Linked DNA regions of Homo sapiens: regions 1, 2 and 3 are each linked to region 4. The links are contacts of gene promoters, found by promoter capture Hi-C in blood cells and fetal thymus (Javierre and others, 2016). All regions are on one chromosome and are shown on one strand. Each heading gives the region's core, a stretch centred on a gene start or on the middle of the fragment in contact. The rest is flanking DNA. Distances are from core to core; before and after follow the strand shown.

Region 1 (5,628 bases), core at 1,652-4,151, 330 kb before region 4:
ATCTCCCAAGGGCCATCTGTGTTGGATTCTGGGTATCATTTTTGACAATTTGGCTCCAAAATCATGTTTAGTATTAAAACCTATCTTTCTCCATTGGCTTTTCCCAAAATAACAACAAAACAAGGAAGTCATTTACTTATGAGTTAAGTTCCAACTTTTCTTGATTTAGAAGATGTGAGTATAAGCACTATGTCATGTGTTTGTCATAGTGCTGATTAATTATTTTCCAAACAAATTCGTCTTAAAGAACTGGTTAGCTAGTAATCAGATTAGGAAATTCTGTTGTCATTACTGAATCCTAGTTTAGACCTAAAGTTTTTCACTAGTAACACTTACGGGACTTTCACTGTCATGGGATTGACATTATTTACTAGAATAAGTAGAAAAAGATAAGCAAGAAGTAAAGAATTATCCTCTTCCTCAAAACAGCTAAAATATATCAAAATATCTGAATCTCTTCATTTTTAGAATATAAATGCAAGATACTAACAAAGTCTCTCATCTAATAAAAAGACATTTTTTACTGATTTTCCTCTTGGCATGCTTTAATTGCCAAAATTTGTACCAGAATAGAAATTATCTTTAAATGAAGAAGATTCTAGTTTAAGAAAAAGTATTTGAATTGTGCTTACTATTCAATTTTCAATATTTATCACAGCATTTACAATGGACAAATTCCTTTACAATATGCAGCAAAAGAATTTAGCAAAATAACATATTGCCTTAAAGTCTAGTAGGATTCTCCTGTGTAATTATTACAAGCATCAGTACTAAAGGTATAGTCAGTTTATGAATCAAACACATTCCTCAAAGCTGCATATAAAATAAATTTGTTTACATTGCATCATCTAAAATATCTCAAGAAAATCTATTAATTAAACTCTTCCTGTTGTTTTTTTAAATTACAAATTCATAGTTTGAGAAGAATTGTTTTCTTAAACAAGTTACAGCTTAAGTTAGGCACTCTGCAATCACTTGCATAAAAAGCTACCACAACTTCGCTATAATATACCATGTCAATTATTCAATGTCTGACTTATTTGTTTATTTCTATACAAAATTTTAGAAGCTGAATTTCAAGTTACAGTACTTCTGATTATTTTTTAAGATCTCATAATCTCATTTCTTCCCACACATCAGTTGTAGAATTGCTTTAAACTTTAATAACTGGCTAGCTGAAGTACTAAAAACACTTGGTTCCTACAATTCAGTCTTTGTCTCCGAATGAGCCTCTGTCACCTTGCTGTATATGTAACCTAGGTCAGGGAGAAGAAAGCTTAGTCTTAATGAACTATTTCTAACAAAGGTCAGTATAGAAACTGTGAATCTATCTAGACACAACTGCAATGACTTCATTGTACAGACTGCATTTTAGATGTGTAATTTTATCCTGGCTACATTTCCTCTATTTTATCTCTAAAACCTGCACATTACTTCATCTTTATCTCATATAGCATTCAATTCTAACTCTAACAGGTGCCTATCTCTGCCCTCTGACAACTATTTTTAGTTGGTCTACAGTTTTCAGTATTCCTATCCCTATAGAAATTACAGTTAAAATATTCATTTACTTGCATACAAAAAGAAATACATGAATTATATAGCTCTCTGATAAATGATACTGTTCTTCATACTGTTTGATAATGTTAATTTACATATTTATCCGGTTCCTAAGAAAATTCAAGTAAATGAGTGTCACCTACTTTCTAAGAGTTTCATAAGAAAATTCAATTAAATGAGTGGCCCCTACTTTCCAAGACATAAGTGTTCTACAGTAACCCTCTATAATTCAGCCCTGCAACTGGACTCCTACTGTCTAAAAAAGTACAAAGAATATAATTATCTTCTTCAGGACTTTTGCAATAATTAAAAGTATGGGTATCAATTTTCTACCTTTAGGCTAAAAATGGGAAGTAACCACCATTTTTATTTGCCAGAAATAAAATCCAGAAAACTGGATCAGTAGCTACTTCCTGATCACTGGACAATGTTGTTTTTCCTTTCCTCCACAACTATACTTCTTAATTTTGTTGTTCAAGGCATAACAAATATAATCAAGTTATATTCTGTTACATCTTAAATGAAATTTATAAAACTAGTAAATTCTTTCAATATCTAGTCTTAATTTTGTTAAATGAAATTTATAAAACTAGTAAATTCTTTCAATATCTAGTCTTAATTTTGTTAGATTTCATTGTTAATTAGAAATCCTTAAAACCTATACCTCCCCCCTTATTTTTTTTTCCAGAGGGTTTTTGTTTTTTGTTTGTTTGTTTGTTTTTTAAACACCTATTATGCCATGAATTCACAGGGAATAGGTTCCAGCAGCTCAGGCATCTTTCCACTGGTTCTTATAAAGTACGCGTCTCTGGATAGAGCAGGCTGGTGCTTCAGCTGAACCCAGAAACCTTTCTCTTTGGCTTATTTTTCTGATCATTTTCCTTCATGCATTTCATGAAGCTACCTCAGTTCTTAGAGTGCTTAAAAAATATGCTCAATACACATGTTAATTCTCTTGGCAAGAATCTTGCCCTTCGCAGTGGCTCATGCCTGTAATCCCAGCACTCTGGGAGGCCAAAGCGGGTGGATCACTTCAGGTCAGGAGTTTGAGACCAGTTTGGCCTATATGGCAAAACCCCATCTCTACTAAAAATAGAAAGAAAATTGCCAGGTGTGGTGGTGGGTGCCTGTAATCCCAGCTACTTGGGAGGTTGAAGTAGGAGAATCACTTGAACCCGGGAGACAAAGGTTGCAGTGAGCCAAGATCGCGCCATTGCACTCCAGCCAGGGCAACAAAGCGAGACTCCGTCTCAAAAAAAAAAAAAACCAAAAAAAAAACTTGCCCTTAACTTGTTTGTGTACAACAATGCTAATAGCATGCTCGCAGTCTTCCAATTTTGCCATGGTAACATTTGTGGACATTTCTTTTTGAACAGTACCCATTCCTTTGATATCTACAATATCATCTTTTTTGTAGAATCGCATGTCTGTGGCCAAAGGAACAATTCCATGTTTTCTAAGAAACCCAGAGAACGTATATCAGGAGTCTTTCCTCTTTCCCTTTATGTTTGTTATTTTGGTAAATTACTGGAAGACGGTAATTCCAGCTGAAAGAAAGGTATATTCTTTTCATATGCTAAATAGAGACTAATCTTTCTCCATTATTAAATACTCATACCACATTACATACTGGCACCACATAATATATTGAAAACTTACCTGTGGTTAATTACATGTCTTAAGTAATTGCAAAGTGTTGAGCCATCTGTGCAGTGCCATCAGCTGATGATGACATTATCAGTTTTTAAGTGCCAAACTGCAAACTCAGTGGACTTTTCAAGACCTTTCTCTGATCAGTGGTAACTGGTATGATGAATGGATGACTACAAAGTTGGTGAGCAACCCTAGATGGTCATCTTAGTAACTGTGAAGTGGTATCTTATAGTTTTGATTCACATTTCCCTAATGACTACTGATATTAAGCATTTCACATGTATATTGGCCATTTCTTTTTTTTTTTTTTTTTTTTTTTTTTTGAGACAGAGTCTCACTCTATTGCCTAGGTTGGAGTGCAGTGGCACAATGTCAGCTCACTGCAACCTCTGCTGCCTTGGTTCAAGTGATTCTCCTGCCTCAGCCTCCCGAGTAGCTGGGATTACAGGCATGCACCACCATGCCCGGCTAATTTTGTATTTTTAGTAGCGATGGGGTTTCTCCATGTTAGTCAGGCTGGTCTTGAACTCCCAACCTCAGGTGATCCGCCCACCTCAGCCTCCCAAAGTGCTGGGATTACAGGCATGAGCCACCATGCCCAGCTCACTTTGATAAATTCTAATGTGTCTATTTTTTTCTTTTGTTGGTTGTGTTTTTGGTGTCATATGTAAAAAACCAATGCCTAATGCAACATCATAAAGATTTACACTTATGTTTTATTCTAAGAATTTTATTGTTTTAGCTCTTAAAAAATTCAGGTCTATGATCCATTTTGAGTTTTGTGTATGGTGTGAGGTAGGGATCCAACCTCATTATTTTGTATGTAGGTATCCAGTTGTGTCCGCTCTATTTGTTGAAAATACATTACATTGTCTTGTGATCCTTGCTAAAAATTAGTTGACCATAAATGTGAGAAATTATTTCTACACGCTCAACTCTATTCCACTAATCAGTAAGTCTGTTCTTTGGTCAGTTCCATACTGCCTTGATTACTATAGTTTTATAGTGAGATTTGAAATCAGGAAATGCAAGCTCTCCAACTTTATTCTTTTCAAGATTGTTTTGGTTATTCTGGGTACCTTGCATTTTCACATGAATTATATTATCAGCTGTCAATTTCTGCAAAAAAAAAGGAAGCTGGAACTTTCATAGGGCTTGCACTGAATCTATAGATCAATTTGGAAAGTACGGCCATCTTAACAATATTAAGTCTTCCAATCCATGAGCACAGGATATCTTTTCATCTATTTAGGTCTTCCTTAATTTATTTCAAAAGTATTTTGTATTAATAGTTTTCAGTGTACAAAGCTTTCATCTTCTTGGTTACATTTATTCCTAGGTATTTTATTCTTTTAGATGCTATTGTACATGTAATTATTTTCATCTTACTTTGCCCAATCCATCAGAAGATTCACTATCTATGGCAGATACAGCCTTATGAAATGTATTTCTGAAATAATAAGACTTGAAAGTTGAAATCACACCTTGGTCCAATGGGCTGCAGAATGGATGTTGTGTTAGCATACATGAAAATAACATTAATATCCTTGTACATCTCCATCAGAGCTCTTGGGTAACCAGGTGTATTGTCGATGAGCAATAATTTTTTAAAAAAATTTTCTGAGTAGTATGTCTCAACAGTAGGCGTCAAATAGTAAACTATGCTATAAACAATGTGCTGTCATTCAGGCTTTATTGTTCCATTTACAGAGCACAGGCAGAGGAGATTTAGCCTCATTCTTAAGGGCCTAGAATTTTCAGAATGGTAAATGAGCACTGGCTTCAACTTCAAGTCACCAGCTACATCAGCCCATCAGCCCCTATTAAGACAGCCCAGCCTTTGAAGCTTTGAAGCCAAGCATCGACTTCCCTTCTCTATGACTTCTGCTCTAGCTATGAAAGTCCTGGATGGCATCTTCTTCCAATAGATGATGGTTTCGTCTACTTTGAAAATCTGTTGCCACCTTCGTTGATTATTTTAGCTAGATTTTCTCAATAATTTGCTACAGCTTCCACCTTAGCACCTGCTGCTTCACTTTGTACTTTTGTATGGAGATGACTTCTTTTCTTAAACCTCATGAACCAAACTCTGCTAGCTTCCAACTTTTCTTCTGCAGCTTCCTCCTCTCTTAGCCTTCACAGAATTAAATAGAGTTAGGGCCTTGCTCTGGATTAGGCTTTGGCTTAAGAGAATGTTCTGGCTGGTTTCTATACAGACTACTAAAACTTTCTCCATATCACCCATAAGGCTGTTTAACTTTCATATTTGGATGTTCACCAGAGTAGCACTTTTAATTCCCTTTAAGAACTTTCCCTTTGCATTCACAATTTGGCTATTTGGCACAAGAGATCTAGCTTTCAGTCTATCCTGGTTTTTGACATGCCTTCCTCACTAAGCTTAACCATTTCTAGCTT
Region 2 (5,583 bases), core at 1,518-4,017, 310 kb before region 4:
AGTACAAAATACAACATGAATAAGTAGGATTTATTTCAGGAATGCAGGTTTAAGACTCAAAAATCCATCAATGTAATCCTCCATATTAACAGAATAAAAAAGAAAATGACAGTATCACCTAAATAGATGTAGAAAAAGCATTTAAATAAAATTTACCATCCATTCATGATAAAAACTCTTAGCAAATAAGGGAAGAAGGGAATTTACTCAACCTAAAAGGCATCTAAGAAAAACTATAGTCACACTCAATGGTCAAAGAATGCATTTTTTCATAAGATCAGGAACAGGGCAAGAATGTCCACTCTCATCACTTCTATCCAGCACTGTACTAGAGGTTCTAGCCAGTGAAATAAAACAAGAAAAGGAAATACACAGAAGGAAATGGAAGAAATAAAAATGTCTTTACTTGCAAACAACATTACTGTCTATTTAGAAAATCCTAAGGAATATACAGACTATTAGAACAATTAAGTTTAGCGAAGTCAGTTCACAAAACCAAAATGCCAAATTTAATTGCTATTTAAAATAGCATCAAAGAATACTTAAGGAAAAATTTAATAAAGTATGTGTATGACCCATACTCTGAAAACCTAAAAAATACTGCTGAAATTTGAAAATATCTAAGTAATAGACATACCATGTCTATTAATTCATGTTAATGAATTAGAAGATTCAATAGTTAATACATGTTGGGTTTCCCCAAATTAATTTATAGATCCAGTGCAATCCCAATAAAAATTCCAGCAGGCTCTGTTGTAGAAACTGACAAACTGATTCTAAAATTTATGTAAAAATGCAGGCCACGCACAGTGGCTCACGCCTGTAATCCCAACACTTTGGAAGGTAGAGGTGGCAGGACTGCATGAGCCCAGGAGTTCAAGACCAGCCTGGGCAACATGGTGAAAGCCTATCTCTACAAAAAATATAAAAATTAGCAGAGTGTGGGAGTGCACACCTGTAGTCCCAGCTCCTCACTCAGGAGGCTGCGATGGGAGAATCACCTGAGCCCGAGAAGGTTAAGGCTGCAGTGGGCCATGATCATGCCACTGCACTCCAGCCTGGGTGAAAGAGTGAAACCCTGTCTCAAAAAAATAAATTAATTAAAATAAAAATGCAAAAGACCTAGAATAGCCAAAGGAACTTTTGAAAAAGAAGAACCAAGTCGGAATACATTCATTACCTGATTTCATAACTTTTTGAAAAACTATAATAATTAAGACAGTGTGGCATTAGAATAAGGATGAATATTTAGATCAAAGGATCAGAACAGAAAATCCAGAAATAAGGCTCACAAGTCTGTGGTCAACTGATTTTCACAAAGGTGCCAAGGCCATTTAATGAATAAAGTATAGTCTTTTCAACAAATGATACTGGAACAACTGGATGTCCATTTGCAAAAAAAAAAAAAAAAAAAAAAAAAAAAAAAAAAAAAAAGAACTTCAACCTTTACTTCACACCCTCTACAAAAATTAACTCTAAATGAATTTTAAATCTAAATGTAAAACCTAATATTATAAACTGCTAGAAGAAAATAGAGAAAAAAATTTTTTTTGAGATGGAGTCTCACTCTGTTGCCCAGGCTGGAGTGCAGTAGCATGATCTCAACTCACTGTAGACTCCACTATCCGGGTTCAAGTGATTCTCCTGCTTCAGCCTCCCAAGTAGCTGGGATTACTGGCGTGTGCCACCATGCCTGGCTAATTTTTGTGTTTTAGTAGAGACGGGCTTCACCATTTTGGTCAGGCTGGTCTAGAACTCCTGACCTCATGATCCGCCTGCCTCGGCCTCCCAAAGTGTTGGGAACACAGGCATAAGCCACCACACCCGGCCAATAGAGCTTATTTATTTATTTATTTATTTATTTATTTTTTGAGACAGAGTCTTGCTCTGTCACCCAGGCTGGAGTGCAGTGGTGCAATCTTGGCTCACTGCAAGCTCTGCCTCTTGGGTTCACACCATTCTCCTGCCTCAGCCTCCCGAGTAGCTGGGACTACAGGCACCCGCCACCATGCCTGGCTAATTTTTTTGTATTTTTAGTAGAGACAGGGTTTCCCCATGTTAGCCAGGATGGTCTCGATCTCCTGACCTCATGATCTGCTGGCCTCAGCCTCCCAAAGTGCTGAGATTACAGGTGTAAGCCACTGTGCCCGGCCAAGCTTATTTTTTTTAACTAATAAACCTCATCATGAAACTGAGGCAATAATTTACCATAAAGTACTCAGAGATGAGAGTAAAATATCAATGTTTTTCTGTAGGTGATTAATAATAAACAGTACTACAAAGTATCTCATTTGGAAACATCATTCCTTTGGAGAATATTTGCTCTCATGTACTTTTTAAAAATCTTCATTTCTGGCATATTAATCTGCTGTTAGTCAAAGAGTATGACAGTCAAATTCTCATCTTCTATAGCAAGAAACGCTTCTCATTTAGAAATATGAAAGCAAACAACAGAAGAAGCTGTGAAATTATCGGAAGTGGTAGTCTCTAAGAAGCAGAAATTGGATGGAGAGAGGTGGGGCATGGGGATGTTATTTTCCTTTATAAGCTATTTAGTATTAATTGACTTTTTAAACTATATACATATATTACCTTTATAAAATGTTAAGAATTTAAAATAACTAGTTCACCTGGTAGCAGCAGAAATTAAGAAGCATCTTATACATTCTAAAGTTAAATATTGTTTGTAAAATAATATTTCTTAGGTAAGGCAGCAACACTAGAAACTACAGAGAATTTTGAAGGTTAAAATAATTGCTCTTAAACATATTCTCGAAGTTAAAAAACACATTAAGGTAAACAACTAATTATCTAGACTACTTCATTTGTTAACAACAAATTCTATTACAGAGCAATATTCTAAAAAACCTTTAAAAGTACAGAAAATATCAGCAATTTCCTAACTCATCTGACTTCCAAAGGTAATCATTTTAAGAGTCAGGCATGAAATAAACATTCAGTAAATAACTGTTGGGGGAAAAACGAGTGGTACCATAGATGTATAACACCTGCATCTATGGGGAGGAGCTGAGTATATTAATAATAATATAAAAGTTAGGAGCAACTTCAAAAAAATAGGTTTGATATTATGGGTAATGCTGTTAATTATGGTACCACTGACTGTGTTTTAAAATGTAGGAAACCAAAACAAAAAAACAATCTAACAAAAAATGCATGTTTATATTTCATCAGCACTATACAATCACACTAAAAATGGGACCTGGAAATACACTCTGTCAAAGCATACCATCAAGCCTCTTTGATTAGATTAGTATCTAGAAAACTGTCCTTACTGAAGAAATGACAAAGAATCATGCTATATTCAAAAGCAGGCAATGTTCTTTCATTTGCAAGGAGAAATCTAGAAGAGAAAGCTTTCTTCCAGTCAACAGTACTGCCTGATTATAACAATGATGCATATATTGCTTAAAATCCAGCTTGACAATAAAGTCAACCATCATCTACAGCTGTAAGGCTTAAGCAATCACCATCTCTAAGCCACATGTGCTTTAATCATAAAATGAGTGATAATATTTTGTCTTCATAAATCAGAGAATTGTACTAAAGAATTCCCTTTCTACATTTTGTGATCTTCTACATCATATATTCAATATTTTGACAAAAATGCCTTTCATCGACTAGGAACAGAAACAGCTGTCCTACTGACTTACAAGGCATGATCATACAAGTTTCCTTCAATACTTCCATAGAGGAATATAACCTTAAGAAACCCAGCAATAGCAAACTTACACTTCAAAGAAGCATTTAAAGGAAAGCCTCAGTTTTTTTAGTATAAGGCATATAAGTAATTCTTGGGAATTTTTCATTTAAGTCAATTTTGGTAGAAGACAGACTATCACAAAACACATTTCACTGGATGTGTTAATCACTCAAAATGCAGAAAATACTTAAGAATAATAACAACATCATTAAGAGTTTAACTGCTACTAATCTACATTTTTGTCCTGAAACTTTGGGAGTTTTCTACGGAACAAAGACCCAGAAACTACTTTTTAATATAAAAAAATTTGAAAAACACAGAATAGTAGAAAAAAATTACACAAAAATAAAAATAAGGCTTCATTCAATTCTTCTGTGAACAAATAGGTTCACGTAGAATAAAGAGAAGATAAAGCATCTCAAATTACTACTGGAAAAAATCCTTTGAAACTATCCTAGGAAAATAATTCACCACCATCCCTCTCCCCAGAAAAACTAAAAATCCATGAAGATAGCTGAAAAGGATGCAAAGCTAAAAAATAACAATACAATAATTCTATCTAAAATAAGACTAAAGCATTTCTTTATTCTACAGTTTAAGAAAAATTAAACTAAAGCCTTATAAACAACAGAAAAGTTGTTTTTTAGTGTCCTCAATCTTAGAAAGTGGAACTGAGATACTGCTTTTATGAGATTCTTTAGTATCCATAGGACACTAAAGAGAAGAAATATATCAACTTGAAATTAAAGCATAAATTGGCTATTTACTACTTCCCAGATTACCTTAAAACAATGCAATTACTATGTGTGTGTCACAGGCTCATATGAATATTTATTGCCAATATCTGAAAGACTTCTGTTTCTTTCAATATGCAAGTTTGGTATTATTTTATTTTCATGACACAGGATGACACTGAATGTTCTTCAAAATTAAGTGTAGCATTCTGTAGCCTGCTTGTTTAAAAGAATTGACAGTTTAGAGATTTTTATTCTTTAAATACTACATGCTGTTTTTCCAAATGTATCATTAACATCCCTTGGAACACAAAGTAATCAGAGTTTGCCAAAACAGGGGTTTTATCACTCTTCCTTCCAGTCTAATATGGTACTCAGCACAAAAAAGAAATTCAATTTAAGACAGTCTGCTTGGAGTTTGAAAACCTTCCATTCTTTAAGAAACACATACTATTTACGGGGCACTGTGATAAGTACTAGGGATAAATGTTTAAGCAGAAGAGACTCAATCCCTGCCCGCCTCGCAGGGTTTTTAATCCAGTGAATAGGACACGAATTTAAGAAACAACTGGATAACTGTATTTCTACAAATGTGATGAACACTATGAAGGAAAAATAGGGGTGCCATGAAGTATGTGAAGACCTGATCTACTACGGCAGATGAGGAAACATTCCTGAGGAACTTATGATTGAGCTGAAGAAGAGTGTTATTCAACAGAGATAACAAAGGGGGAGGGAAAATGATTCCCTGCAGGGAACAGAAAGTATGCAAAGATCTTGAGGTAGAAGAAAACGCGTACTGAAGGAATCAAAAGAAGGCTGGCCAATGTAATTCATAAGAACTGGCCAAGTGCGGTGGGTCACACCTGTAATCCCAGCACTTTGGGAGGCCAAGCCGGGCGGTTCATGAGGTCAGGAGATTGAGACCATCCTGGCTAACACAGTGAAACCCTGTCTCTACTAAAAATACAAAAAATTAGCCGGGCATGGTGGCAGGCACCTGTAGTCCTAGCTACTCGGGAGGCTGAGGCAGGAGAATGGCGTGAACCCAGAAGGCAGAGCTTGCAGCGAGCTGAGATCGCGCCACTGCACTCCAGCCTGGGCAACAGAACCAGACAAAAAAAAAAA
Region 3 (5,668 bases), core at 1,931-4,430, 360 kb before region 4:
TTCCTAGATGGCAGTCAGGGAGTGGGGTGGTAGTTTATATATATCAGCTTAAATCCTTACAACCCTTCAAGATAGAGGTAGTACTTATAATAGCTTTTCAGGAAGAAAAGGGCTCCATGAAGAAATCAAGCAACTTAACTAGGGTCAGCAATGTTGGAACTGGGATTACAGTGTAATTAAAACACTTGCTTTTCCCACACTTTACTGTTCTGGGTTAACTGTTGGGAACCTGATTTTGGTCAGCAACTTTGCCTCAATAATCCTCACTGCCTCTTAAAATTCCTTCATAATGCTAAAAGCAGTCATTGTCAGGGAGATTAGAAAGGCATTTCTGTAGGAGTTCTCATACCTATTCTAACCAGAAACTTGAGTTGCAGTGACTTCAGAATCCTCTAGTCATAACGCGCTACAGTAGGTTTTACCTGTACCTTTTTGAGACGGAGTCTCGCTCTGCTGCCCAGGCTGGAGTGCAGTGGCTCGATCTCAGCTCACTGCAGCCTCCGCCTCCCAGGTTCAAGATTCTCCTGCCTCAGCCTCCTGAGTAGCTGGGACTACAGGTGCATGCCACCACGCCCAGCTAATTTTTCGTATTTTTTTTTTTAGTGGATAACGGAATTTCATCATGTTGGCCAGGGTGGTTTCAAACTCCTGACCTCAAGTGATCTGCGCACCTCTGCCTTCCAAAGTGCTGGGATTACAGGTGTGAGCCATTGCACCTGGCCTACCTGTACCTTTTAATATAAATGTCACTCAGGTGTTCTATAAATAGGGTACCCTAAATAAGATTAGTGGAACTTCCAGACTTGTTTGCAATTTGAATAATAGTGTAGCTAAAGGATGCTCCCAAAAGTTATTTAGAGAACAGATCATGAGAATGGCTTTGTGTCCTACCTGAGGCAGTTAATATTATTATTAATGTGGCACATTAAACCACATGCAGTTAGGTTATATGGAGTTACCAGTCAGGCTCCTGTTTAAATTGCAGAACAGGAATGGCAATTATAATTCAAACTGCCATTTGATTTGGCATTGATACTGATTTGGTATCAACAGACATTTAGGAGATAGTTACCTCTTAAGGTGTGGATACCCATTCATGTTTTTGCCTTCATAAAGAAGGATGGTACAAAAAGAAAGGTATTCTTCGTTCACAGTTTTTATTTCTTCCAATTAACTTTTGTGTCTTCAAAGTTGATTTGTCTTTTAAAAAATTAATACTTCTTACTCATACAATCTACACCACCCCAAGGAAAACAAACCCAGGGAAGGGTAATTTAGGGGGCAGTTAAAATGTGCACTATAGGTTTATAACAAATGCTTTCCAGCCCATAATCCTGTACATATGCAACAAAATGGCACCTCAAGTTCATCTGAATGAAGGCCCAAATAATGCAAGCGAAGGCCATGAGAATAACAAAACAAACAGAAGCTTAGTCACTGGCTTCATTCACTTTGTATGGTAGCACAGTCTTCAAACTGTCTCACACTTGATCAAGAGTAAGCAAACACAGAGACAACATCTTGACTCAGCCATTAGTAATTATAAGTGAAACCAGAAATAATTTACCTGGGCCACAAAAAGGAATTGTTTTGTCCTGTTTTTCATTAAGTCCCTAGCACCTGAAACGTAGCAAGTTCTGATACTGGGCTTCTAAAGGCATGCAGTTTTTCACTCACATCTACTTCAAAGAATTTCTTCCACTGAAACATAGCACAATCAAGGAAAAACTTCTTCTGGAGGCAAAGGAAGAGCACAAGTATATGTTGAGGCGTAATGTATGACCAAGATGGTACACTATATATAGAAGCAGTGAATGCTGTTAAAGTGTCACTCACAAAGGGATAGTCTAACATTAACACACAACTCAACTGCACTGCTAAATATGGTTGTCTTTATTTTCTTTTTCCTTGCCCAGCCCTATCTAAACATAAAATAAAACTACAGGACTGAAATTAACAATCCATTAAAATCAGCAATAAGTTATGAAAATCATAAAGCTTTTTTTTTTTTTTAAGTAATTAAGGGTAGTTAAATTATTTAAAGTATACAAAGTCCAAACAGCCAGGGGTAAGGTCTCCAAGAGGCCTTCCCAGGGTAAGGGAGAGGGCCACAAGGGAACCTTGGAGTTTGAAAGACAAAGGGAACACATGACATCAAAGTGCAGGCTAGAAATTTCACTTAGAAGAAAATAACATTACTGAAAATATTCGTAAGAGTAACAATAGCACCTGCACAGTGGGACTGTGAGGAAGAGAGAGACTGCCTGTAGGAAAATGGAAGCAAATCTTTACATTAAAATGAGACAAGTGCTGAACTTACTATGTTAACTATGATAGTGTGTCTACTATAGATATCAGATGGTTAAAAGCTGGTAAAAGGTAATGATTCTAAAAACAAAAATAGCATTGACCCTTTTTCTACCTAGCCCAGACCTCATTCATTTTGTGCACTATAAAGAGTGAGGTGTGAGGTGTTTTATCATTATCAAATGCTGCATCAAAATAGATGATTTTTTTCCCCATGTGTTTTTCCACTATAAAAGACATCTATTTTTTTTTATGGATAAGCTTTAAAAAGATGTCATTTTGGTTTTCAACACATATAAACAGTTATCAAAATCTGAAATAAAAATGCTGCTGTGGCTCAGACCTTGGCCTGCTAATCTGCGTGCACAACTCTTCTGACCCACGCAGACAAAGAGGCACATGGAGCTTTTTCCTTTTGGCCCCCCCAATCCATACTCATAGGCCTTGTAGGATAGAGGCTGTCATGCATGGACTGCTCCCATGTGGCCTAAGGGCAGCAGGATGGAGAGGTGGCAGCTGGGTGCCTAGTGCTAACAATGCAGGATAAGGTTAGCTTGCTTAGCATGGAATCCAACAGAAAGTTGAGCTGCATGATGATCCCTTTCAAAAGGCTTCATGGGAGTCTCTCCTTTTGCAGAGCATGAAATGAGCTTTTTTCAAAAAAAAAAAATAATAATAAAGGATTGATCATCCACAGGCTTCATGATAAACTGTCCCAGGCTGAGTTTTAATAGCTCATTATTAGCTATCCAAGATTAATACCTGATTTTCTTGTCTTTTCATTCGAATAGTTTTTATTTTGCTTTTAGGACCATAAAGCTCAGGAAGGGTTCATAACCCCATCCTTAAATGTGTCTACTCAATGTAGTATGAGCAAACTAGAAAAGAGAAAGAGGATGGCATCTCCAATGTCCTCTTCTCAATCAACTCAAATCAAGAAAATTTCACACAAGTTTTCTGCTGCCATTAAAAATTGTGATTTTTCCAATATGAATATTCTGAATATTTGTTCTCCTTGGGAGGCTCTGCCCCACTTTTTGCTAAGTATTTGCTTAAATACAGGTCCTCTGACCCTTTTGTTCAAGTATAGTTTTGTTTTGTTTTGTTTTGTTTTAAAGAGGAGACTGCATCATGAACCCAATTTAAGAGATTGTTTGTATTGAATTGGCCCAGTGAATATTTTGCCCTGCACTGTTATGTCATGCTGGGTTCTATGAAGTGAATGAAAGTTTGACACTGGCACTGGAGTAACCCTCGTCACTCCCAATACTCGGCAGGCTGCTGTGGTCATCAATGTCACTGATGCTGGTGGTACTTATATTGTCCACTTCTCCATGGGAGAACTCTGTGCTTTCAACATCCACTTCAATCTCCTCTGCCAAAGGAAAAAAAAAAAAGAAGAACATTAATTATCGAGTATAGCGCACCTTCAAAAACTAACAGCATGAGGAAAAGAGGTATAAGAAATGTTACACAACAAGCTTATTATCAGTGATGTCTGGAGAACAGAGGAACAAGGTGAAGAGACAGGAATATTTTTTGCCAAGGGGAATGTCTGATATACAGTGGTGGTCTTAATTTAGGCAGCAAATTTCCTAAATCCTTTGACGCCAGTCCGTCTGGACCTCCCTAAAGCACTTGGCGTATTTGGGAATTAGTGCTTAATATTAAAAGGTCCCAACCCCCAAGTGGTTTAAAAACATCTGTTTTGCATTAAACCACAAACTAATTCTCAGTTCTGTTTATTAATCAGGGTTGCCTTAAAGGGTGGGCAGGAGCATAAACTTAATATAGGCAAACTAGAAAATTTACCCATCCAAGCCTTTGGTGGTGCCATTCTACAGATAGTTCAACAGACTTCTAGGATTCATCATAAAGATCTTCAACTAGTCAGTCAAACAAGTCATTATAAAGTAGAGTTTGAGGTATATGTCTTAGATTTAATTTTCTTGCATCAAATATAGCTTGAAATAAGGGCCTGAGACTTAAAAGTCTTCAGATTATAGTGAGATCCATTTTGGTGGTAGTATACAGACTTAAAAGCCAAACATTAAAAAAAAAAAACACCACAAATACATATTTGACTCAGCTATCAATAGATAATGTTGCTGGACGCAGTGGCTCACGTCCGTAATCCCAGCACTTTGGGAGGCTAAGGCAGGAAGATCACTTGAGTGCAGGAGTTTGAGACAAGCCTGGGTAACAAAGTGAGACCTCATTTCTACCAAAAAAAACACAACAACACAAAAATTAGCTGGGTATAGTGGGTGATCCAGTAGTCCCAGCTACTCGGGAGGCCAAGGTGGGAGGATCACTCTTGAGCCCAGGAGGTTGAGGCTGCAGTGTGCCAAGGTCTCACCACTGCACTTCAGCCTGTGTGACAGAGTGAGACCCTGTCTCTTAAAAATAAAAAAAAAAATCTTAATTGTTAAATACTAGATATTCAATCATCAATAATATACATAAATCAATACACATGTTAAAAACAAAAAGGAGTTAAAAAGTTGTTTTCTCCCATCAGAGCTAGAGTGAAACCCAGGATTTTTCAGTTACCTTACTTAAATTCAAAGCCTGATGTTTCACATTTGGCACTGACTTTTTAAGGGTTCACACTAATCACAACTGCTTTAAAAAAAAAAAAAAAGTGGATTCAGCCGGGTGCGGCCAAGCACTTTGGGAGGCTGAGGCAGGTGGATCACGAGGTCAGGAGTTCAAGACCAGCCTGACCAATATGGTGAAACCCCGTGTCTAGGCTAAAAATAGAAAAATTAGCTGGGCATGGTGGCACGCGCCTATAGTCCCAGCTACTTGGGAGGCTGACGCAGCAGAAACACTTGAACTTAGGAGGCAGAGGTTGCAGTGAGCCAAGATCACGCCACTGCACTCCAGCCTAGGCGACAGAGCGAGACACTCTCTCTCAAAAAAAAAAAAAAAGTGGATTCTTGTGAGGCCAAAAGGACAGGGTGAAGCTATTTCCAGGAATATACTTTTCAAAAGGGCTTGTTGCTTCAAAAGTTTTAGAGATTCTAGAGATGTTTTTAAAATGTAGGCAGCTGTCCAAATAATCTGTGAATTCATATATTGGCTCTATATCCGAATTGCTTCAGAAGCCATTGTTTCCCAGCACCACTGAACACTCATCCAACCTACAACTAGAAGATAATAACAAGGCACACTATCCAAAAGAGCATGCTGAACTCAGTCAAAATAAAGTAAAATGATGGCCAACACAGTGGCTCACACCTATAATCCCAGCACTTTGGGAAGCCAAGGCAGGAGGATTGCTTGAGCCCAGGAGTTTGAGACCACTTGGGCAACAAGGCCCATCTCTATTTTAATAAAATTTAAAAATATGTTTAAA
Region 4 (5,906 bases), core at 1,129-3,628:
GGAGAAGAACCTATATAACTCCTGGTGTTCTCATTCTCTCATGGTAATTCAGTGCTATAACTTCTCCAGAGGTTCTCTTGTTAGAACTTCAAGAGCGAGGCCGGGCACAGTGGGTCATGCCTGTAATCCCAGCACTTTGGAAGGTCGAGGCCAAGGAGTTCAAGACCAGCCTGACCAACATGGTGAAACTCCGTCTCTACTAAATACAAAAAATTAGCCGGGTGTGGTGGCGCATGCCTGTAATCCCACCTACTTAGGAGGCTGAGGCAGGAGAATTGCTTGAAGCCGGGAGGCAGAGGTTGCAGTGAGCTGAGATTGTGCCATTGTACTCCAGCCTGGGCAAAAAGAGCAAAACTCCATCTCAAAAAACAAACAAACAAAAAAACTTCAAGAGGGGAAAGGGTTCCTTTTTTTATCTTGCAAACAGGAACTCAAATCCAGCTCAGGGAATGCAAGGTATTTCTCTCTCTCCCCTGAAGCTGGATGCCGTAAATTCTGAGCCAACTCCTTTTCTTTTAGGCAATGTGATTATTAAATACCTGTCCCCCTTAAGTTTCACTTATCTCTCTCTCTCTTATCTCGTTTTCTCTTATAACTTGATTTTTCCCACCAGCTTTCAGATGTGGGCTGGAACCAGTATTTTATTTACAATCTCTCTGTTTTTGGCTTCATAAATTTGGGGAAATGCAACAGATGTGTGCTGCTTTCCCAGGAAGCACATCTTTAGTTTTTTCATGCTTTAACTACACAGTCTAATTCGGCTTGCCTAAATGCTTATTCAATAACGACTTTGAGTTCTTGCAGGTAGCAGAACCTAGCTGATACAGGTATATTAGGCCTTACACCAAGGTCAAAGCAGGAGGAGGTGCCATTCACCTTTAAAAAAATGTGGTCACTTTCATTTAGTGCCAGGTGTTGTTCTAAGCACCAGGGAAATAACAATGAACAAGAGAGCCACCATCCCTGCTTTTGAGGAGTGCACATTCTGAAACATTCATTTCTGCAGAAAATATATAATGAGAACTTATGACATGTTAGATATTGTTCATCATTAAACAAAACAGAAACAATCTGCACTGATGGTTTTGTTGTGTGCGTGGGTGGTGGCAGGAGAGGGGGAAGAATACAGTACACATAAGTACATTAAAAGAATCCTGTTAAAAGGTGGTAAGTGCTATGGAAAAAATGAAGTAGGGTAAGGCGGATTAGGAATATTGGAATGATTTACAAATTTAAATAGGATGGTCAGGGTAGGTGATACTTGAACGAAGACTTGAAGGAAAATGAGGAAGGGAGCCTCAATATTTGGGGGATGAGCAAGTCCAAAAGCCCTGGGACATGAGTGTACCCTGCTTTTTCAAGGAGAGCCAGGAGGCCATTTCAGCTGAAGAAGAGTGAGGAAGGTGAGAACAGGAGGAAATGTGGCTGGGGGTAGATCAAATGGAGCTTTTATGCTGCGTGAAACGAGAAATTAATGGAAAGTGCTGAGCAAAGAAGTGACCTGGTGTCACGCTTCAAAGGACTGGTCTGGCGGCTTTGTTCAGGCTGGACTGTGCAGGTGCGGGATGGTGAGGGGATATTTGGGGGGCTGCTGTAACCACACGGGTGGGGTGGTACAACCCTCTGATGCACATCAGAGGGTAGGAGGTGGAGGTGGTGTGACACGGCCAGATTAGGGGTCTATTTTGGAGGCAGGGCCAACAAGATTTTGCTGGCAGATTAGATGTGGGGTGTGAAAGAGAAGAGGCAGGGAGGATTCCTAAATTTTGCCTCTTAAGAATAGAGTAGCCATTGATTGAGATGGCAAAGAAGACTGGTGGAGAACGTTTTTGCTTTGCTTCGGTGCATTGGGAGTTCCAGGAGTTCCGTTTGGACGTTAAGTTTGAAGGGGCTATTTACTATCCAAGCGGAGCGGAGAGCTGGATTTTGAAGCTCTCTGGGAACATACTTTTGGGGACATTTCTAAAGCTTGAGACCCTGTTCCAAAGCCTCGAAGACCCTGTCGAGGTTCTTCCGGAGCCGGCCACGTCCCTCTCTTCTCAGCCCTCCTAAATTAAGCCGGAAAATCCCTGGGACAGTAGCCCCTTTATTCGGCAAAGCCCTTTTTCCTCTTTGAGGAATGACGACAAAAACGAACAAAAATGAAGACACTCAGCAGCACTGCGTCCTTTCCCCGCTCGCTGCAGGGAGAGGCAATGCGGACTGGTGTGGAAGGGCAGGCCCCGCTCTGGGCCGCAGGCGCTGCGGCCGCGAACCCCAGGTCCGGGAGTGTGGGCGGGGCCTGCGTGTGGGCGGGGCCGCGGCGCCAGCGCCCGCCACGGGCGAGGGCGTGGCCGACCCGGCGCTAGCCCGCCCGCCCGCCCGCCGGCTCTCGCGCCTCCTTCGCGCCGGCCCTTCCGCGGGTGATCAGCTGGTCTGCGCTCCCCTGACGTGGGCTGGGGCACGTCACCGCCGAATGGCAGCCTCCAGAAAGCCACCGCGAGTAAGGTGAGGGCACTCCGCCGGCAGCCGGCGTCCGGGCAGCGTGCAGCCCTCGCTGCGCGGCCGCGCGTGTTGCACCTCGGCGGGCAGGGACGCGCGGGTGAGGAGCCCGGCCCGCCGCAGTCTGGCGAGGGCCGCGCTCGCCGGAGCCCCGGAACAGGAGCCGGGGGAAGGGGTCCATGAGGCCGGGCGAGATCCGGTTCGTTTCCGGAGGGTCGGTGGGCACGGGGCGGCCCGAGTCTGGTTCCTGGACGCGTATGCCCGCGGAACTGCTGCACTCGGCCTGAGGGGGCGGCGGCCGTCACAGTTCCTGGCCCGCGGGAAGGCCCCGTTCTTGGAGGAAGTTGGCCCCTCTTCGTGTCCGGGGAGGTGGGCGAGCCTTTGCCCTCGCTTCTGTTACCCAGGAATCTAAACCTCAAGTTACAATCTCGACAATACTGACTCCTGCAATTCACTCTACTGATCTGTCACCGCCACAAGGATAGACGGTCGCGGGCCCCTCCCTACCCAAATGGTTTCAGAGGCTGTGTAAGGGAATATTTTGGTATAATCTCCAGGAAAATCCCCCCAGTAGCCTGCCCTGGGCTCTCCTTGGGCATAGGAGGGTGAGACAGATAATTTCCCGGCCTCAAGTTAAACATGTTTTAGTTTATTCCCCTGCCATAACCAGGATGTACTTATCAGAGCCTCTGACAAAGTGGGAGACGGAGAGAGGTGTTCAGAGTTCATGGAGGCCACAGGCCAGACTCCCTGGCCATCCCCAAGGGGTCACCCACCTGCTAACCACTTGAGACATGAATGCACTCACTTTGCAGCATGGCCAGGCTTTCTTGCTGAACACAGACCATGGCTCCTGCTTGTGTTTGTGAGTAGGGGGGTCCCAAACCTACCTTGACCTGGATTTGCCGTTGCCACAGCTTGTTAAGGGTGAGCAGAAAACCAGACCCACCCTGTGGAAGTATGTGGGAGGGGTGGAGAACTTCCATCTGGAAGGAGCTTCCTGTAAGTGAAGTGCTGGAAATGGAGTCAGGCAAGTGGATAATGATGAGTTAGGCTGTAGGCCTCAGGTGGTCTTTAGGGGGCCAAGGTGATCTGTGCTAGATTTATAGACTCACAGCCTTTTAGGAGCAGAAGAGTCTTTTCTACACCAGCTGGTAGAGTCTTTTTTACCTCAAAGGAAAGTCCAGTGAAAGGCTGAGAGAGGGGAAGCCATTTTCCACAGGCGCCTCCCCTACTGGTAGAATTTGAGTGCCATTCCTTGTAAAAGTGAGCACTTCTTTCAGTTTCGGTAATGGAAACTGAACTCAAATTGATTTACCTAAAATGGGGTTGAGCTGGCTTCTAGTGTGGCTGAATCCGGGAGCACCACCAACATTGGCTTCAGACTTCTCTTTATCATCTCTTGGCTCTGATTTATTCAGTATCCGCTTCATTCTCAGGGAGACTTTCTCCTTATGGCAGGTTATGACAGTTCTAGGCTGACAGCCCCAGCAGAGAAGTTGAGCCCTCCTTCCTAATGGAGCAGAAGTCCCTGATCTGATGCTCACTGGGCTGCCTTAATTCTCATGTTCATCTGTGAACCAATCATTATGGCCAGAGGGAGGGATTGACCTGCTTTGGGTCCCAGAGCCTGTTAGGTGTTTGGATAAGACTGCTTTGAACCCCTTGGGCTGAAATGGAGAGGGTACATTCTCAAAAGGAAAACCAAGGTTCCCATCAAAAGGAGGGATGGATTCTGGGTAGACAAAGACAACATTGCTTACTTCCCAACCTTAGAACTTGTTCCAGTTTACCCTTGTCTCATCCACTAGGTGTGATTGAGCATCTTGTTCCTTGTTTTGCCCCATGCTGAACGCTACACATGTGTGATTCCCATGAACTGGGGGTTGCAGGGGGGTGAGGTATTCAGAACCCTGCCAGAATTTCTTGGAAAAAGAGGGAGAAGGCCTTTTCTAGTGCTACCATAACCATCTTATACAAAGATTGAAAGTGCTCTGCATGCTTCTTGCCCCTTACCCACTTTGTGGCTCATCATGAAGTTGAGAAGGTGTAGGTCGAAGAAGTTCTGGGAAGGGTAGGAGCACTGAGCTGGATGTTGGGAGGCTGGAACGCTGGTTCTAGCTCTGTCAGCAGTTAGCTGTGAGGCCTTGAGCCAGTCATTTGATCTTTGTTTCTTGGTTTCCTGGTCTAGAGGAGGGAATTGAGTTGGATAGTCCCTGAGGTATATTCTTCTAGTTCTTAATATTTAATGATAATTGTGCTTTGACAGAGAACTTAAGAATTTTATCTGTCCAAACAAGTGAAAGGTGGATAGATCTTGGACTCTGCGGAGACCAAGATACGACAAGAACAGAGCAGCTGTAGTATTGAGCTGCTTCGTAGCTCCTGTGATCCTGACAGAAAGGTGGAGGTGTTGATGCTCACACAGAGAGTTTGAGCTCACCTGTCAGACCTAGTTTCTGGTCTTGGCTTTGCGGCTACTGAGTTATATGGCCTATGGTAAGTTATCTTTGTTTTTTTATTCTGTAAAATGAATGAATAGGATTACCTTAAGGTAACCTTGGCTAGGCACGGTGGCTCACACCTATAGTCCCAGCACTTTGGGAGGCTGAGGTGGGAGGATCACTTGAGGCCAGGAGTTTGAGACCAGACTGGGCAATGTGGTGAGATCCTGTCTCTTCAGAAAATTATTAAAAAAAAAAAATCAGGTTGGTGTGATGGCACATACCTGTAGTCCTAGGTCCTTGGGAGATTGAGGCAGGAGAATTGCTTGAGCTTAGGAGTTTGAGGCTGCCATAAGCTAAGATTGTGCCACTGCACTCCAGCCTGAGTGACACAGCAAGACCCTGTCTCTAAAAAAATGATAACCTTCCACCTCTGTAGTCATGTGTCTGAACCAGTCATTGGGATCAGTTACTTACCATCTTAGAAACTTACGTATGAAGTAATGGGAAATTCGGTGAGAATCTGACTTGTATCCCTGTCCACAAGAAAGAGATGTTATAAAATTTATAATGGCTTTATTGAGATATAATTCACTTATATACAATTCATCTGTTAAAATGTACAATTCAAGTTATTAGTATAGTCACAGAGTTGTACAACTATCATCACAATCATTTTAGAACATTTTCTTCATCCCCGAAAGAAATCCTGTTACCTGTAATCAGTCACTCCTCACCTCAGCCCTTGGCAACCACCAACACTGCATGTCTACTTCCTGTCTTTACCGATTTGCCTATTCTGGACATTTTATGTGAATAGAATCATATACTATGTGGTCTTTTGTATTAGGCTTTTTCCCTTAGCATGTTTTCAAGGTTCACCTATGTCATAGGTGTGATTTCTTTCTTTTCTTTCTTTTTTTTTTTTTAAATGAGACGGAGTCTTGCTCTGTTGCCAGGCTGGAGTGCAGTGGCACGATC

Evidence for each region. The method cuts DNA at HindIII sites, captures the fragments that hold promoters and counts their contacts. A CHiCAGO score of 5 or more calls a contact.
Region 1: a contact is called between a fragment that was not itself captured here and the fragment with the promoter of XPNPEP1 in region 4, in 5 of 17 cell types (activated CD4 T cells, total CD8 T cells, naive CD4 T cells and 2 more). The highest score is 6.2, in activated CD4 T cells.
Region 2: a contact is called between a fragment that was not itself captured here and the fragment with the promoter of XPNPEP1 in region 4, in 3 of 17 cell types (total B cells, total CD8 T cells and naive CD4 T cells). The highest score is 6.0, in total B cells.
Region 3: a fragment that was not itself captured here is called in contact with the fragment with the promoter of XPNPEP1 in region 4 in 8 of 17 cell types (naive CD8 T cells, activated CD4 T cells, total B cells and 5 more); the score reaches 6.9 in naive CD8 T cells.

Annotation. Positions count from the first base shown.
Region 1 is chr10:110,254,511-110,260,138 of GRCh38, reverse strand. All of the region lies in intron 3 of MXI1 (MAX interactor 1, dimerization protein), which reads right to left. Among named protein-coding and RNA genes, the nearest start is that of SMNDC1, 48 kb to the left of the region's middle. The HindIII fragment of the contact is 3,245 bases long and covers 1,279-4,523 here.
Region 2 is chr10:110,231,976-110,237,558 of GRCh38, reverse strand. All of the region lies in intron 2 of MXI1 (MAX interactor 1, dimerization protein), which reads right to left. Among named protein-coding and RNA genes, the nearest start is that of MXI1, 27 kb to the right of the region's middle. The HindIII fragment of the contact is 1,218 bases long and covers 2,159-3,376 here.
Region 3 is chr10:110,282,838-110,288,505 of GRCh38, reverse strand. MXI1 (MAX interactor 1, dimerization protein) reads right to left here. Exons shown (of 6, transcript NM_130439.3): 6 at 1,141-3,682. The coding sequence ends at 3,519. Among named protein-coding and RNA genes, the nearest start is that of SMNDC1, 19 kb to the left of the region's middle. RefSeq lists an enhancer at 2,620-3,121. The HindIII fragment of the contact is 1,220 bases long and covers 2,571-3,790 here.
Region 4 is chr10:109,919,983-109,925,888 of GRCh38, reverse strand. XPNPEP1 (X-prolyl aminopeptidase 1) reads left to right here and starts at 2,378. Exons shown (of 21, transcript NM_020383.4): 1 at 2,378-2,487. The coding sequence starts at 2,456. RefSeq lists a silencer at 2,163-2,702. The HindIII fragment of the contact is 9,615 bases long and covers 1,971-5,906 here.